5 separate regions of the Homo sapiens genome follow, and regions 1, 2, 3 and 5 are each linked to region 4. Evidence: promoter capture Hi-C in human tissues and cell types (Jung and others, 2019). All regions are on one chromosome and are shown on one strand. The core of a region is centred on a gene start or on the middle of the fragment in contact, and the rest is flanking DNA. Distances in the headings are between cores, read along the strand shown.

Evidence for each region. Contacts are between HindIII fragments. The study calls those that stand out against the background at their distance.
Region 1: a contact is called between a fragment that was not itself captured here and the fragment with the promoter of BMP4 in region 4, in 1 of the 25 tissues and cell types used here (H1 embryonic stem cells).
Region 2: a contact is called between a fragment that was not itself captured here and the fragment with the promoter of BMP4 in region 4, in 1 of the 25 tissues and cell types used here (H1 embryonic stem cells).
Region 3: a fragment that was not itself captured here is called in contact with the fragment with the promoter of BMP4 in region 4 in 1 of the 25 tissues and cell types used here (mesenchymal stem cells).
Region 5: a fragment that was not itself captured here is called in contact with the fragment with the promoter of BMP4 in region 4 in 1 of the 25 tissues and cell types used here (aorta).

Annotation. Positions count from the first base shown.
Region 1 is chr14:54,153,403-54,156,797 of GRCh38, reverse strand. The region is part of intron 4 of LOC105370507 (a long non-coding RNA gene); the gene reads left to right. Among named protein-coding and RNA genes, the nearest start is that of BMP4, 200 kb to the right of the region's middle. The HindIII fragment of the contact is 3,060 bases long and covers 1-2,877 here.
Region 2 is chr14:53,790,816-53,794,590 of GRCh38, reverse strand. LINC02331 (long intergenic non-protein coding RNA 2331) reads left to right here. Exons shown (of 6, transcript NR_184221.1): 3 at 1,195-1,249. Among named protein-coding and RNA genes, the nearest start is that of LINC02331, 58 kb to the left of the region's middle. The HindIII fragment of the contact is 4,401 bases long and covers 300-3,775 here.
Region 3 is chr14:53,823,250-53,826,536 of GRCh38, reverse strand. The region is part of intron 2 of LINC02331 (long intergenic non-protein coding RNA 2331); the gene reads left to right. Among named protein-coding and RNA genes, the nearest start is that of LINC02331, 26 kb to the left of the region's middle. The HindIII fragment of the contact is 4,607 bases long and covers 1-3,287 here.
Region 4 is chr14:53,955,061-53,958,657 of GRCh38, reverse strand. It overlaps BMP4 (bone morphogenetic protein 4), which reads left to right and starts at 1,833. Exons shown (of 4, transcript NM_001202.6): 1 at 1,833-2,108. It overlaps LOC124903317, which reads right to left. Exons shown (of 2, transcript XM_047432035.1): 1 at 2,330-3,597. The coding sequence starts at 2,757. RefSeq lists silencers at 1,871-1,950, 2,600-2,709 and promoters at 665-2,007, 1-2,007, 2,935-3,597. The HindIII fragment of the contact is 13,246 bases long and covers 1-3,597 here.
Region 5 is chr14:54,203,037-54,206,791 of GRCh38, reverse strand. No RefSeq gene overlaps it. Among named protein-coding and RNA genes, the nearest start is that of CDKN3, 190 kb to the left of the region's middle. The HindIII fragment of the contact is 3,845 bases long and covers 1-3,539 here.

The DNA.
Region 1 (3,395 bases), core at 98-2,597, 200 kb before region 4:
ATTTCAGAGGTCAAGGTAAGAAAGCTCGAGAGATCAGATTTAGATGTCACTGATGAAAGACAGCTGATTTGGGGTGATAGAAACAAGTGCTTCTATTAAACATGCAACCACAGAGAGTTTGATTTTCTGTCTGTCCTTTCTAGCCATTAAGAGCTATGTCTTAACGGAGTTAGCATTTTTACAGCATTTAAAAAATTTATTTTGAAACTTACATCTATATGCATAAATACAATTTAAAATATGTATATAAATGTGAGCATTACTTCTGCCCTGTAACAGTAATAACCTGGCTTATAATTTACCATATTTTTTCTGTATGCTTGTTCAGTCAAATGAAAATATACATACATTACTTGGAACAGAATAGAGAGGTGAGAAATAAGTCTGCATACCTACAACCATCTGATCTTCGACAAAGCTGACAAAACCAAGCAATAGGGAAAGGACTCCCTATTTGATAAATGGTGTTGGGATAACTGGCTAGCCATATGCAGAAGATTGAAATCGGACTCCTTTCTTATGTATACAAAAATCAACTCAAGGTGGATTAAAGACTTAAATGTAAAACCCAAAACTATAAAAACCCTGGAAGACAACATAGGCAATACCTTTCTGGATAGAGGAATGGACAAGATTTCATGACAAAGACATCAAAAGCAATTGAAACAAAAGCAAAAATTGACAAATCAGATGTAATTAAGCTTAAGAGCTTCTACACAGCAAAAGAAACTATTAACAGAGTAAACAGACAACCTACAGAATGGGAGAAAACATTTGCAAACTATGCCTCTGACAAAGGCCTAATATCTAGCATCTATAAGGAACATAAACTTACAAGAAAAAAAAATACATTAAAAAGTGGGTAAGTGAGGCCGGATGCAGCGGCTCACACTTGTAATCCCAGCACTTTGGGAGGCTGAGGCAAGTGGATCACTTGAGCTCAGAAGTTTGAGATCAGCCTGGGCAACATGGCGATACCCTGTCTCTACTCAGAATTTGAAAAAAAAAAAAATGGCGTGATGGTGTGCGCCTGTAGTCTCAGCTACCTGGGAGGTTGAGGTAGGAGGATCAGTTGAACCCAGGGACAGAGGCTTCAGTGAGCTGAGATTGTGCCATTGCACTCCAGCCTAGGTGACAGAGCAACACCCTGTCTCAAAAAAAAAAAAAAAAAGGTGGGAGCAAATAACATGAACAGACAGCTTTCGAAAGAAGACATACATGCAGCCAACAGGCATATGAAAAAAAGCTCAACATCATTGATCATTAGAGAAATGCAAATCAAAACCGCAATGAGGTACTATCTCACATCAGTCAGAATAGCTATTACTAAAAAGTCAAAAATAACAGATGGCAAGGTAGTGGAGAAAAGGGAATGCTTATACACTGTTGGTGGGAGTGTAAATTAGTTTACCCGTTGTGGAAGACTGTGGTGATTTCTCAAAGACCTAAAGACAGAACTATTATTCAACTCAGCAGTCTCATTACTGAGTATATACCTAAAGGAATATAAATTATTCTACTATAAAGACACATGCACGTGAATGTTCATTGTGCACTATTTACAGTAGCAAAGACGTGGAATCAACCTAAATGCCCATCAGTGGTAGACTAGATAAAGAAAATGTGCAGCCGGGTGCGGTGATTCACGCCTGTAATCCCAGCACTTTGAGAAGCTGGGGTGGGTGGATCACCTGAGATCAGGAGTTCAAAACTAACCTGGCCAATGTGGTGAAACCCCATCGCTGATAAAAACACAAAAATTAGTAGGGTGTGGTGGTGGGCGTCTGTAATCCCAGCTACTTGGGTGGCTGAGGCAGGAGAATCACTTGAACCTGGGAGGTGGAGGTTGCAGTGAGCCAAGATCACACCACTGCACTCCAGCCTGGGTGACAGAATGAGACTCCATCTCAAGAAAAAAAAAAAAAAAAGAAAAAATGTGTACATATATACTATGGAATACTATGCAACCATAAAAAAGGATGAGAACATGTCCTTTATGGGCACACAGATGGAGCTGGAAGCCATTATCCTTGGCAAACTAACGCAGGAACCAGAAAACCGAATGCTGCATGTTCTCACTTATAAGTGGGAGCTAAATGATGAGAACTCATGGACAAAAAAGGGAACAACAGACACTGGGGCCCACTTGAGGGTGGCGGGTGAGAGAAGGGAGAGAATCAGCAAAAAAATAACTAATGGATACTAGGCTTAGTAAGTTGGTGACGAAATAATCTGTACAACAAACCCCCATGACACAAGATTACCTATATAATAAACCTGCACATGCACCCCGGAGCCTAAAAGTTTTTTAAGAAATAAAATATACATACATTACAAAGATATACCACACACACACACACACACACACACACACACACACACACACACACACGCACATACATATATATATTCTTGAATGCTTTTTAGCCATTTTAAAATAAAACTAGGAATACATTTGATATGGTTTGGCTCTGTGTCCCCACCCAAATCTCACCTCGAATTGTAATCGGAATTGTAATCCCCAGATGTCGAGAAAGGGACCTGGTGGGAGGTGATTGGATCATGGGGATGGTTTCCCCCTTGTTGTTCTTGTAATAGTGAGGGAGTTCTCATGAGATCTGGTTGTTTGATAAGTGTCTGGCAGTTTCCCCTGTGCTCTCTCTCTCTCCTGTCACCATGTAAAACATGTCTTGCTCCCCCTTTGCCTTCTGCCATGATTGTAAGTTTCCTGAGACCTCCTGGCCATGCAGAACTGTGAGTCAATTAAATCTCTTTTCTTCATAAATTACCCAGTCTCAGGTAGTATCTTTATAGCAGTGTGAAAATTGACTAATACAATAATATATCCAGTTTTCTGTGTCTTGCTTCTCTCAGAATACCTTATAGAAATTCTACCAAGTCACATGGTACATTTAATTGGTGATATCCATAAGAATTATGAATTTATTTAATCCTTACTGATGAGAATTCATTTGGTTGGCTTGGTTCTTTTTATCCACTGTAAAAAATACTACAATGATCATCTTCATGTATTCATTTCATGTTGGTGGTTTTGATAGATTCCAAGGAATAGAATTACTGAGCCAAATTAACATGTCTTTTTAGTTTGAATAGATTTTGCCAGACTGCAAAAGGTCTCAACATTTCTACCAGCAAAGTATGGGCACATTCTTTTCTCCATTAACCTTAAGTATGATATGTTACCCCTCTTTTAAAGTTCTTCTATTCTAAGAGGTATAAATAATGCTTTATTGCTACTTTAGCTACAATGTGACAATTTTCTTTTTTTGTTTTTGATATAACTCCATGGCTTTTTTCATCAGCCAGTTGAAATCTTTAATTAAAAAATTAAAGGACTACATTCACATATTTCGAAAGTTGTAATAGAACAATAG
Region 2 (3,775 bases), core at 1,251-3,750, 160 kb after region 4:
AGTGGCTGAGCTGGGTTTCCCAAGTGTCCAAAACTCCCTGAAAGTAAAACCCTGGGTATGGGTTCCTTTAAGGTCAGTCACTGCATTTTCATTCCAAAGATTTTCTTGTTCTTGAAAAGGACCAGGCAAAGGGAGGGGTCTCTGATCTGGAGCATCTCTGCTTTTGGCCCAGGCACCCATCACCCCATCAGTTTGATTCCTGCTCTGTAACCACAAAGACAAGTATGATGAATCTCCTTTTGGAACACAATGCAGTTTGCTTGGATAAACATCCACTTTAGACAAACAATAAAAGCAGCTCAAGTGGGGCCTTGGCTGCTCTCCTGGTGTTACGCTCATGAATATGCCTTTGGTGCTTGGCAGCAAAAATTTTCTGGTTGCACAAAATAGTAAACCACCCTTTGGGAATACCCATCCCCTGTCCTTGTTGTTCAAAACATATTGGAATTTAAGTTATTAGCCCTAAACAAGTAACAAATTTAACCCTCTAAGTCTCCATTTCTATGTATTGTAAAGGAGGATTTTTTTTTTTTTAAATCATGAGGGAGAATTCTAAGGGAGTTGATGAAACAGATGCTGTGTAAACACAGTTCTATTATGTTGAAAGATATATCAGCTCAGCCACAGAGCCTTTACTGATCCCTCTGTTAGAAATCATTTATCTTCTCCTCTCCTCTGAACTATTGCTACACTTTGCTTTTTCTTATGGAGTACTGATTTTATCTAGCATTTTATTTATTCGTGTGTGTGTCTTAATTTCCCTTCTAGACTGTAATTTTCATAGTGGCATGAAATTTATGTCTTATTCAACTTTGTTTTCCCTACGAATTATATATATTTATATATACACACACATATATTAATATATAAACAATAGACATACAAATATATTAATATATACAAATAATATATACACATTAACATATTATATATAAAATTTGCAGGGAAAACATATATATGTGTATGTGTGTAAATATATATAATAACATTGGTTTTATAAATATAAAACCAATCCACCAATCCATTCCCATACTTCCTTTTGGTAGACTTATTCCTTTATTCAAAGATTTTGTCATTTGGTATGTGTTGGTTACTGAAAATAAGCTATTTTTTTTTAATCACCGTGCCTTGTGCTCTGTGTTTGTTAAATGGGATCACAAAGTAAAAGCTATTATTTTTATCCTCCCTTTACAGGTGAAGAAACAGAGGCAAAGGGAGCATAAGCAATTTTCCAAAGGCCATACAACATGTAAGTGGCTGAGCCAAGACTGAAATCACCAGGTTCTTAACCACTAGGCCATATTGCATTGGAGTGTTGCCTCCTGGAGTAAGACTAGGTAAGAAAATATGAAAAACATATGGCCCCTGAATCAAGCACTTCACATTGTAGTAGAAAAGACAGACCTGCAGAAACACCATAAGAATATAGGCTGATTGAGTGTAGTGATGGAACTTTGTGGAAAGGCCATAAACACAGCAAAAGGGCTGCCCCCAGGTGGCAGTGATCACTGGGACAGGGCTTAGGTGGAGTGTGGATTTTCTTTGTTTGACAGGGGTTGTCTCAATATCAAAAATGGCTCTTTTAGTAGGGAGGATAAGATTTTAGAGACCATCTTCCAGTTCACCTCCTTTATTGCAAAAGAGGAAGCTGAAATAAAGAAATTTAGGAGATTCGCTCAACACACAACTGATTAATTGCACATTCAAGACAGAACAGAAAAAGTTGTCTAAATCCTGTAGCAAACCTGAATTTTCCTGAAGATTCATTTGGAAGAAGAAACAGCCAGGAAAAAAAAAAAGAAAGAAAGAAAGTAAAAGAGATGGTAAGAAATGATAATGCCCTTAGAAGGCCATTATAAAATATAGAAAAATCAGTGAAGAAACAAAAACATCTAGAGTCACAAATGTCATATTGGCATCTCCTACTTTAGAAAAAGGTACAAAAAATAAGACTTTCCCCTTCTTCCCCATGTTCCTCCTCAGGTCCCCCCACCCATCCCCTATCCCTGTTTTCTACAGAAGCTTACATAGAGAACTATGAGACTATTGGGCATGGTGGTCTGTGCTCTGCACCCTAAACATGGTTTCACTGATTGCTAGTTTTCCATAAGAATACAAAACCAATTGTTTATTGTACTGTCACAAGTTTGCCTCCCTCAGGCTTTCACTATTTCAGCTAAAACAGATGCTATTTAGAAATATAGAATATTGTAAAAGCCACTTAATTCTCTAATGATTTCAATTATAAAAGGTAAAAATTTTTTACCTCCCCATGCTTCAGGTTAATTTTGTCCTCACCTTATGTTTTTGTTATTCTCTCTGCCTCGATTCTCCCCTCATTTCCATCCATTTAATTCTTTGCTCCTCTTCCTGGAATTCATATAGTAGGAATTCCACCTCTCCCATGTGCATTTGAGCCAAAGTTCCCAAAGCAAGTTCTATGGAACATGATTACCTGAAGAGCTTCCTGAAAGCTGGGTTCCATGGTCAAAGAAGCTTGAGAAAACCTCACATTATCTCTTGTCTGATGACCAGAATTTATTATTTGTACCTTAAAGTTTAGCAGTCAATTATTGTATATGTAAGAAATGATTAAATATCTATCATGGACCAAGCATACACAGGGCTGAATATGGGAGTTATAATTGTTCCCTCACCCTAAGTAAGTCTTGTCTGTTTACCCAGATTTTGTAGTTCTGGAAAGTAAGGACTGGTCCTATTGTATTGTTATACTGTTATAGAGTTACAGTATAATGGCAATAAGAGAGGCTCAATAAATGATTTCCGGTTGGCTTGTTGGTTAACTAAATGTGAGTTAGCTTTTACCAATAAAAATTGCTTTTATCTTCTCCTTGAAAACTACTCTGCAAGAGAAAGTGCCTTTGATCCTACTTAGTAGGATAGTTTTTCTAACAACAAAACTCTCTACAGAAAGTCTGAAATGCATCTGCATAATGTGACTGACTCAAATAGCAATGTCCAACATCAGAAAAATACCAATTTTCCAATTTTGGAATGCCTACCAGGATACATAGAAGACCACAGGGAAAAAAACACCACAATTATCCCCATTTTATTCTCCACTACAGAAATCCAGCCTCTGTTGCTGGATTTGATGTCTAGCCACAATCACATGTGACTAAGTTGAGTTCATGAACTGAATTTGGGCTGATCCCATTAAATTCTTAAATAGAGAAAAATATTTGTTCTCACCTGACCAGCTTTGACTAAAAGGCATCTTGTGGTGAGGACAATGCAAAATGAAGCATGCCATTCTCCTGTCACACGATATCTGCCTCGAAATCAGATTGCCACCCAGTGATTAATACCGTCTGTCTAACACATTCCTTGTTTGGGGGCTGGGTGTCAGGAAAGAAGGATTTATTATATCATAAGATGTCCATGAACAAACTCCAGGGACAGATGTGGTAAAAACAGGACTTAAAGCATTTGGTGAGAATATCCCAGTTATTCTTTAAGGGACTTGTCAAACATTAAATTAAGTGAAGCAGAAGGGTTTTATGATTTTTCTCCCCTCCTTAAGTGGACTGTCAGAGTTATGTTACTAGAGTTAATGCTACCAAATTTGAATGCTTGAGTGCAGCCCTGTCTTGAAGTATTTGTCAGGGAAAAAAAAAGACTGTTTGAGGCTTGGCAGACACTTCCCATATGAGTTATGAGAGAATAAACTATTTCCAAGTTGTACTACTGAAAGCTGAAAGGACCTATGGAAGACCTTCCAAACTGTTATTATAAATAGGAATTCAAACCATGG
Region 3 (3,287 bases), core at 431-2,930, 130 kb after region 4:
CTTAAAATTCATTTCTACTTTTGTTTAAGCTGGCTTGAGGGGACTTCTGTTTCTTGTAATCCAAGAGCCTAGGCCAAAACTTCAAATATACAATTTTGAAAGAATTTAAGAAGTATTTGTCAGTTCAAGTACTATCTTAAGGATGAATAAAAGGCATAAAAACTAGGATTCAATTTTATTATACTAATTCATGACAAAGTTTTCCTATTTCTGGACAGTGTATCATCTCTTTGGCAAAAGTTTTAAAATAAAATTTTAAGGGGGTGAATGACGGGTGGTCACTTGGTGGGTACAATGTGCGTCGCTCTAGTGATAGATGCACCGAAGGTCCTGCCTTCACTGCAATGTGATACATTGATGTAGCAAAATTGCACTTGCACACTATGAATATATAGAAATTTAAAAATCAAAATAAAAAATAAAAATTTAGGTAAAATATTAAATATATCAAAAATAAAACTCATTAAAATGCCATCCTGCTTAATAAATAGAGCATTAATAATCTCCTGAAAAATTCCAGGTGCTCCTCTTCAATTTCATCCCTCTCCCTGCCCCAGAGACAGCCACTGGACTGAATTTTTTATCTATTATTTGTTTTCTTTCTTTAAATAGTTTTACCACATCTGTATGTATCTCTAGAAATACAATGTTTAGTTTTCCATACTTTTGAAATTTATGTTGATGGAATAATGCTCTATGCTATGAATCCCTCTTTGCTCAACTTTATACTTAAGAGATTAATTACATTTTTGTGTACAAATCTAATTCATTCATTTTCACTGCTGTATAGATTCCTGTTTTACAGCTGTGGCAGAGATTATCCTTTCTCCCTTCAGTGAGGAGTTAGAAGTGGAATTTCTGTGTTGTAGCAGTGGTCCCCAACCTTTTTGGCCCCAGGGACTGGTTTCATGTAAGACAATTTTTCCATAGACCAGGGGTTGTCGGGGGGATGGTTTTGGGATGATTCAAGCACATTACACTTATTGCGCACTTTATTTCTATTATTATTACATTGTAATGGGTAATGAAGTAATTATACAACTCTCCATAATGTAGAATCAGTGGGAGCCCTGAGCTTGTTTTGCTGCAACTAGATTGTCCCATCTGGGAGCGATGGGAAATAGTGACAGATCATTAGGCATTAGATTCTCATAAGGAGAGCACAACCAAGATCCCTCACATGTGCAGTTCACCATAGTGTTCACGCTTCTATGAGGATCTAATAGAACCACTAATCTGACAGGAGGTACAGCTCACACAGTAATGCAAGCCATGGGGAGTGGCTAAATACAGATGAAGCTTTGCTCGCTTGCTTGCCACTCACATCTTGCTGTGCGGCCCAGTTCCTAACAGGCCACAGACTCGTACCAGTCTGTGGCCCCTGGGGGTTGAGGACCCCTCTGTTGTAGGATATATACATATTTAAATTTCTAGGTAATGCCAAGTTTTTCTCAGAGTGATTGTAGTATAAATGTATAAAAATGCCCTTCGCTTTACATCCTTGCGGATTTTTGGCATGTTTTGACTTTTTAGTTATTTTGCCAATCTAATGTATGCAAAATTAAATCCCACTTTTTTACCTAACAAACATTCATTAAGTGCCTGATAGAGACATATCAGTGAATAAAACAGACAAAATAAACAAAAACAAAACAAAATCTAAAGCCCTTGCCCTCATAGAACTTACATTCTAGTGGAGAATACACACAGCAAATAAAATATATATGAAAGTTATTTAGTATTTTAGTATCTGGTAAGTACTAAAGAGAAAATTAAAACAGAGCGGGACTAGGTAGTGCTGGTGCTGGGGTGGGACTGAACTTCAATAGAGTGGTCAGGTGGGCATTTGAACAAAGACCAGAAGGAGGTGAAGGAAGTCATACCAATAGCACTGTTGTGTTTTGTTTGATGTATCAATCAGAGTCCAGTTGGGGAAGCACAGTCGTGATAACTATTACAAGATAAAGAATTTATCATTGCAATTAGAGCTCACATGAATGTGGGAGGAACCAGGGAGGTGAAAGACTACAAGGGGTTGAGGGGTCAGAGATGGCTAGTCCCTAAGCAGCTTCCCGCAGCACTGGCATGGGGGGCAAGTCAAAGCTTGCAGGGTGATTGATAAATAAAGCACATCCTGCTGAGAAAGTAGGACCATAAAGAGGAAGTTTGTGAAGAGGTGCAGAGGAAGCTCTTGCTTTTGTGCAGAAACTGGCTGGTGGCTCCACAGCCAAACATTTGGTTGAGGGGCCTGGGCCATTGACTACTGGGCCAGTAGTGAAGAAGAGTTGGTCACAGCTCTTGGTTAAACTATAACCTGTGGGGTACTTTTGCATTTCTTCGTCACTAAGACCTTCAGAGGGTTATAACCACTGTTTCACATCCACCTTCCAAATTACTATGTTTTATCAACTCTAACCAAATATGATAGAAGGACAGGGACTCTGGGAAAAAGAGCTCCCAGCTTAACTAAGTTGATACAACGTAATCTAACACATCTAGTTAGTGATAAATGAGGTTGGGCATACTTCTATATATTCAGTGGTCATCATTGTTTTTTCTTCCTCCAAGTGTCTAAGTTCTTTGCTCATTTTTCTACTGGATTGTTTGATTTTTTAAAATAGATTTTTAGGAGTTTTTACAATATTTTGATTACCATTCTTAGTCCATTATATGTGTGGCAAATAAGTTATCCCAATTTGTAGCTGGTAATTTCACTTTCATCATGGCATCCTTTAAAGAACAAAGGTCTTTCTTTTCATATAATTTCACTTAATCTTTTTTTCTTATGGCTTGCACATTTTGTATACTGTTTAAGAAATCCTTCCTTAACCAAAGGCATACATTTATTCTTCTACGATGTCTTCTTAAAGTTTTATAATTTTCCTTGTATAATACTTTCAATAAACTTTTGTAAATAGTGTGAGATGAAAATACAATTTCACTGATCTTTTTCCATATAGAGCTGTAATTGTCCCAGTGCTGTATCTTAAAGAGTTCATCCTCACTGATTTGCCCTGCCTGCTCTTTCATAAAGCAGATTTCTCTATATTATTATGGTTCTATTTCTGGATTCTCTAATCTGTTCCATTGGTCTTTTGTCTCTCTTTTAACTAACATTATATTATTTTTATTATAGCCATATAAAAAGTCTTTCTCTCTGGTAGATGCAGTCTCTTCAGCTTGTGTTTCTTCGGGAGTGTTTTGGCAATTCTTGGTTCTTCATGTTTCTCTATTTTAAAATTGTCTTGATTAACTCAATAAAAAAGTTCTATAGGATTTCGACTGAA
Region 4 (3,597 bases), core at 584-3,083:
CTATTTGGAAGCTACAGGTATATTTTGTCCTCCTTTTGGGGTGGTGTTATTGCCCTGCCCTGTTTTAATCAGTGGTTCTTAGAGAAAGTGAACTCAGGAGTGACTTAAAATGAAGGAAGACGGACTTTGGCTAAAATTACAATTAAATAATCAAATCATTTTCAAATATAAAGGGAGCATGCAGATGATCTGGCCCAATCCTTTCATTCTGCAGATGAGAAAACTGAGACTCATAGGAATGAAAAGACTTGCCCAAAGCCATACAGCTTGTTTCTGTTGTTTGGTGCATTAGGCCAAAAGACCTAGGCCTAATAGATGGAAAAGATGGCAGGATGTCTTGGCCTTGCTCTGACAGTTGCTTCTCTGATCTCAGATATTTCCCACCCTTTGTAATCTGTGTTCCACACAGGAAGTAGTTCTTGTTTTTTAAATATCGAAGGTGTATAAACGTAAAGTTTTTATAGATGAGCCACCCAGGGCCAATATCTGTTTAAGTAAAGACCTAAATGCTTTGCAGAGACAGTAAAGTGTCATGTCTGTCCCAGGGAAAGAAATCCAGGACAGGAAATGCTCAGTCTTCCAGCACTCCTCTGGCTACCTGGAGCTCAGGCTATGAGCCTCAACCCCTCCCTGAAGCATTAGCTCTGGAGCAGAGGCTGTGATTTACTTCAGAGATCTGGGCAAGTCCCTTTAACCTGGTAGTCCTGCCTTTCCTTGTTTGTAAAACAGAGAGATGAGGCTGATAGCTCCCTCACAGCTCCATCAGAGGCAGTGTGTGAAATTAGTTCCTGTTTGGGAAGGTTTAAAAGCCACCACATTCCACCTCCCTGCTAATATGATTACTAAAATGTTTTTATATGAAAGGGCCAATTCCTCATCTCCCCTCTTCCTTTAAAAACAGACCAAGGGGCATCTTTTCTTGTCTCCCTGTGGCCTAAAAGGTTACTGCTTCTGTGGTTATCTCCTTGGAAAGACAGAGTGTCAGGACTCTTAGGTACACCAAAAATGAACAAAAAAATCAACAACAACCATAACACCAACAAAAATAACTGCTGTGTCGGTTCTTAAGACGGCTTCTGAGCTAGAAACAGATTTTTCTAACTGTAAAAAACGTGGCCCCAGCCTGTCTGCAGGCCACCTCTGTCTTTAGGCCTTGGGGGGAGGAGGGAAGTGAGCTCATTTACTGGGGTCTACCTCAGGGTCATCACCAAGGTGTTCTACAAAACGCACTTTAAGAATGTTTTGGAAGGAAATTCACCTTTTAACAGCCCAAGAGGTATCTCTCTCTGGCACACAGTTCTGCACACAGCCTGTTTCTCAACGTTTGGAAATCTTTTAACAGTTTATGGAAGGCCACCTTTTAAACCGATCCAACAGCTCCTTTCTCCATAACCTGATTTTAGAGGTGTTTCATTATCTCTAATTACTCAGGGTAAATGGTGATTACTCAGTGTTTTAATCATCAGTTTGGGCAGCAGTTACACTAAACTCAGGGAAGCCCAGACTCCCATGGGTATTTTTGGAAGGTACGGCGACTAGTCGGTGCATGCTTTCTAGTACCTCCGCACGTGGTCCCCAGGTGAGCCCCAGCCGCTTCCCAGAGCTGGAGGCAGCGGCGTCCCAGCTCCGACGGCAGCTGCGGACTCGGGCGCTGCCTGGGCTTCCGGGACCCGGGCCTGCTAGGCGAGGTCGGGCGGCTGGAGGGGAGGATGTGGGCGGGGCTCCCATCCCCAGAAAGGGAGGCGAGCGAGGGAGGAGGGAAGGAGGGAGGGGCCGCCGGGGAAGAGGAGGAGGAAGGAAAGAAAGAAAGCGAGGGAGGGAAAGAGGAGGAAGGAAGATGCGAGAAGGCAGAGGAGGAGGGAGGGAGGGAAGGAGCGCGGAGCCCGGCCCGGAAGCTAGGTGAGTGTGGCATCCGAGCTGAGGGACGCGAGCCTGAGACGCCGCTGCTGCTCCGGCTGAGTATCTAGCTTGTCTCCCCGATGGGATTCCCGTCCAAGCTATCTCGAGCCTGCAGCGCCACAGTCCCCGGCCCTCGCCCAGGTTCACTGCAACCGTTCAGAGGTCCCCAGGAGCTGCTGCTGGCGAGCCCGCTACTGCAGGGACCTATGGTGAGCAAGGCTACCTGGTGAGGGGAGACAGGCAGAGGGGGTCTAGGAGCCTCCTTGGGGGGAAGAAGCTGGTCACAGGCTGTGACCGAGGCAAAAGGTGGCCTAATTATTTTCCAATAGTGGTGCTGGAGGTGGGGATGCTGGCGCTGAAAGACCTTTAAATATCGGCTACTGCCCCTGCCCAGGCCTTCTCTGTCCAGCAGTCCCTGGGAGATTCTCACCTTTGGGAAGTGCGGGGCAGGAGAGCAGAAACAAGAGAAGCCCTTGGTAGGGGGGTCGTTGGGAAAAACTGTGGGGTCTTGGGCTGAACGCGTTGCCCACGGGCTGGAGGTTGCGATCCCCGGACGGAAAGCGCGGGAGGAGGAAGGAGAGAACCGGCTCTGAGGTCCAGAGAGAGTGAGGGGGCAGAGCGACGGCGAGATGGGGAGAGAACACCTAGCTGGAGCAGGTTCTGCGGTAGAGAGCGCAGTCCTGCTGGCCTCTGGAGAGTGCGCGCCGCTCCGGAGGCTGCGTCGAGGGGAGTGTCACCCAATCTGGCCCCCAGCTGGCGGGGCGCCCTGAGAGCTTGCGAACTGCAGTTGCAGGACGCGCCTTCTCCACGAGCTATTTTCGTCGACTTGCGGAACCCAAGGAACCTCGCCTCTATCATTTCACGGTGTAGGGTCCCTAGAGACGACAGCCAAGATCCCAGGGGCTCCCAGGACGCTTGTTCCTGCGGTGTCGTGTCCTATGGGGAGTTCCTGGCGGGACGAAAGGCGGACGCGCGGCTCTTCCTGGCCCTCCAGGCCCGGAACCGACGGGAAAGGTTCCCGTGATTCCCGAGTCCCTGCAGGCTTCTTCCAGCGGGAGTTGGTCCGGGGGCCTTAGAGGCCTCCAAGCACTGCTTTGGAGGATGGTTTCCAAGGATCGCGGTTTGTGAGTTGAAGGCTTTGTGAGAGGTTAAACCCCCAAAAGATACATACTTGGTAAACTGAGGCTACCTGTAAACACATTTCGGCATTAGGAGAAGATTCGAGTAGGGAAGTGAAGGACAACCACCCCGAGTTACATTCCTTTCCCCCAATAAAAAGCTCTGGGGATGAAAGTTCTTTTGGCTTTTATCTTTTCGATTTAAAAATTTGAGAAGAAAAATGTGACTAGAGATGAATCCTGGTGAATCCGAAATTGAAACACAACTCCCCCTTCCCCTTCCTATCCTCTCGGTTTTAGAACCGCGCTCTCCCGCCCCAGGAGATTCCTTGGGGCCGAGGGTTTTCCGGGGAACCCGGGCGCCCGCCCCTTCTACTGTCCCTTTGCCCCGCGGGCACAGCTTGCCTCCGTCTGCTTTCTCTACTTCTGGACCTCTCCTCGCCGGGCTTTTTAAAGGGCTTCTGCGTCTCAAAACAAAACAAAAAAACCCTTTGCTCTTCCCAACCCTTTCGCAGCCCGCCCCAGCGGTGGCGCGGGACCAGCAAAGGCGAAAGCCGCGCGGCTCTTGCCGGGCGCGGAC
Region 5 (3,755 bases), core at 368-2,867, 250 kb before region 4:
CTGACTTTGGGCCAGTCTTTCCTCCTTTCCTTCTTTCACTCTCCTGGCTGCTTTTCCTGTTCTTGGCTTGGAGCCAGCCCCTTGATCTTGGGTTGGACTGGATTCTCCGGGTTGATCCCCACATGCTCTCTTGAATGTGGTTCTGTATTTTCACTCAGTCTCTGCTTCTTGCCCCCCTGGACTCTAATGTCCTGCCTGTTAAGCTTCTGGAACCTAACCCTGCTGTAAGCCTCACCCCCTCCCCAAGCCAATCCCAGGAACTAGAACATTCCTTTGGAGATAACTGTATGTATTTAAAGGAACCTCCACCCCCTTTTAAAACTCATGTATACATATATATAGAACCTTGCTCTAGACCATGTCATAATTAGTGCCTCCATACTCCACTTTTCAGAATGAACATTCTATTATGGCGAAAGGAACCATTTCCCATTTACTTCAACCCTTTACTGACTGCCCCAAAGTGCTATATTTATTTATTTATTTTTGAGATTTAAGAGGGTAAAAGTTTCCCTGGTTTTTTTTTTTTTTTGAGACAGAATCTTGCTCTGTCACCCAGGTTGGAGTGCAGCGGCATCATTATTAGCTCACTGTTAACCTCCACCTCCTGGGTTCAAGTGACCCTCCCTCCTCCCGAGTAGCTGGGATTACAGGCACACACCACCATGCCCAGGTAATTTTGTATTCTTAGTAGAGATGTGGTTTCACCATGTTGGCCAGGCTGGTCTTGAAATCCTGACCTCAAGTAATCCGCCCGTCTCAGATTCCCAGTTGGGGGAAGTCAGGTCTGGCCAGTTCCCCTAATTCTGCCACTGATTTTTTTGTCATCTCAGATCATCTTGAAGTCTCATCTTGATGGCTTCACATTGCTTCCTCTTTGCTCTGATCATTAGATTCTTGCCTGGGTAAAAATAGCCCTCTGTGTTACAGGTTTAGGCATATGGGTTTGGATCTCCCAGTTTCTCTTTTGGTCCATGAAGGCCAAGTAAGAGAGCTGGTGTGCTCCTTACCATGACCTTGGGTCTTTGACCACACACACACACACACACACACACACACACACGCACCCTACTTTACCTGGGTTAGAACCAACAATGACAGCAGATTTGGGAACACAGTCACTCAGGATATTGTTTCAGCACGGATTCCACGTGAATCTGGGGAGGCTTCATTCTGCCACTTTTATAGTCCCAGGTCAATTGTCCTAAATTTCTACTACTTCAAATCCTCTATGATTGAATCTTAGTAATTCCTGCCTATTTAGTTTATCTGATTTAAAATGTTAAGTACAGTTTCAGGTGATGGTTTCTATCACCAGAATTATTTGAAGGCTGATCTGGTTAATAGACTCTTGTCCTCCCAACAAGTTATCCTCATCTGTTTCCCTGGTTACTTACGATCCTGCCTTGGATAGACTCAAAGCAAAATGACTCTAAGAGGGCAATTGCATACTCTGTCTAAACTACTGACCTATTCCTTTGCAGGAACTTCCATTAAAATACAGTCATATGCCACAAAATGACGTTTCTGTCAATGACAGACCGCGCCTATGATGGCGGTCCCAAAGATCAGAATCAAGCTGAAAAATTCCTATTGCATAGTGATATCCTGACAATCCTGGCCTTGTATAGGCCTAACCTAATGTATGTGTTTGTGTCTTAGTTTTTAACAAGCAAATTTTAAAAGTAATAAAAAAAATTTAATAGAAAAAAGCTTACAGAATAGGGATATAAAGAAAGAAATTATTTTTATACAACTTTATAATGTTTTAAGCTAAGTGTTACTACAAGAGTCAAAAAGTTAAATTTAAAAGTTTATAAATTAAAAAAGTTACAGTGAGCTAGTTTATTATCGAAAAGAGAAAAATTTTGTTTGTTTGTTTGTTTGTTTATTTTTATTTTTATTGTTCATTCTTGGGTGTTTCTCGCAGAGGGGGATTTGGCAGGGTCATAGGACAATAGTGGAGGGAAGGTCAGCAGATAAACAAGTGAACAAAGGTCTCTGGTTTTCCTAGGCAGAGGACCCTGCGGCCTTCCGCAGTGTTTGTGTCCCTGGGTACTTGAGATTAGGGAGTGGTGATGACTCTTAAGGAGCATGCTGCCTTCAAGTATCTGTTTAACAAAGCACATCTTGCACCACCCTTAATCCATTTAACCCTGAGTGGACACAGCACATGTTTCAGAGAGCACAGGGTTGGGGGCAAGGTCACCGATCAACAGGATAATAATTTTTCTTAGTACAGAGCAAAACGAAAAGTCTCCCATGTCTACCTCTCTCCGCACAGACATGGCAACCATCCGATTTCTCAATCCTTTCCCCACCTTTCCCCCCTTTCTACTCCACAAAACCGCCATTGTCATCATGGCCCGTTCTCAGTGAGCTGCTGGGCACACCTCCCAGACGGGGTGGTGGCCGGGCAGAGGGGCTCCTCACTTCCCAGTAGGGGCGACCGGGCAGAGGCGCCCCTCACCTCCCGGGCAGGGCGGCTGGCCGGGCGGGGGGCTGACCCCCCCACCTCCCTCCCGGACGGGGCGGCTGGTCAGGCAGAGGGGCTCCTCACTTCCCAGTAGGGGCGGTCGGGCAGAGGCGCCCCTCACCTCCCGGACGGGGCGGCTGGCCGGGCGGGGGGCTGAACCCCCCACCTCCCTCCCGGACGGGGCGGCTGGCCGGGCAGAGGGGCTCCTCACTTCCCAGTAGGGGCGGCCGGGCAGAGGCGCCCCTCACCTCCCGGACGGGGCGGCTGGCCGGGTGGGGGGCTGACCCCCCCACCTCCCTCCCGGATGGGGCGGCTGGCCGGGCGGGGGGCTGATCCCCCCTCCTCCCTCCCGGACGGGGCGGCTGGCCGGGCGGGGGGCTGACCCCCCCCACCTCCTTCCCGGACGGGGCGGCTGGCTGGGCAGAGGGGCTCCTCACTTCCCAGTAGGGGCGGCCGGGCAGAGGCGCCCCTCACCTCCCGGATGGGGCGGCTGGCCGGGCGGGGGGCTGACCCCCCCACCTCCCTCCCGGACGGGGTGGCTGGCCGGGCGGGGGGCTGACCCCCCCACCTCCCTCCCAGACGGGGCGGCTGGCCGGGAGAGGGGCTCCTCACTTCCCAGTAGGGGTGGCCGGGCAGAGGCGCCCCTCACCTCCCGGATGGGGCAGCTGGCCGGGCGGGGGTGCTGACCCCCCCACCTCCCTCCTGGATGGGGCGGCTGGCCGGGCAGGGGGCTGACCCCCCCACCTCCCTCCCGGACGGGGTGGCTGGCCGGGCGGGGGGCTGACCCCCCCACCTCCCTCCCGGACGGGGTGGCTGGCCGGGCGGGGGGCTGACCCCCCCACCTCCCTCCCGGACGGAGCAGCTGGCCGGGCAGAGGGGCTCCTCACTTCCCAGTAGGGGCGGCCGGGCAGAGGTGCCCCTCACCTCCTGGACGGGGCGGCTGGCCGGGCGGGGGGCTGAGCCCCCCACCTCCCTCCCGGATGGGGCGGCTGGCCTGGCAGGGGGCTGACCCCCCCACCTCCCTCCCGGACGGGGCGGCTGGCCTGGGGGGGCTGACCCCCACCTCCCTCCCGGACGGGGTGGCTGCCGGGCGGAGACGCTCCTCACTTCCCAGACGGGGTGGCTGCCGGGCAGAGGCGCTCCTCACTTCCTAGATGGGATGGCGGCCGGGCAGAGATGCTCCTCACTTTCCAGACTGGGCAGCCAGGCAGAGGGGCTCCTCACGTCCCAGACGATGGGCGGCCAGGCAGAGACGCTCCTCACTTCCCAGACGGGGTGG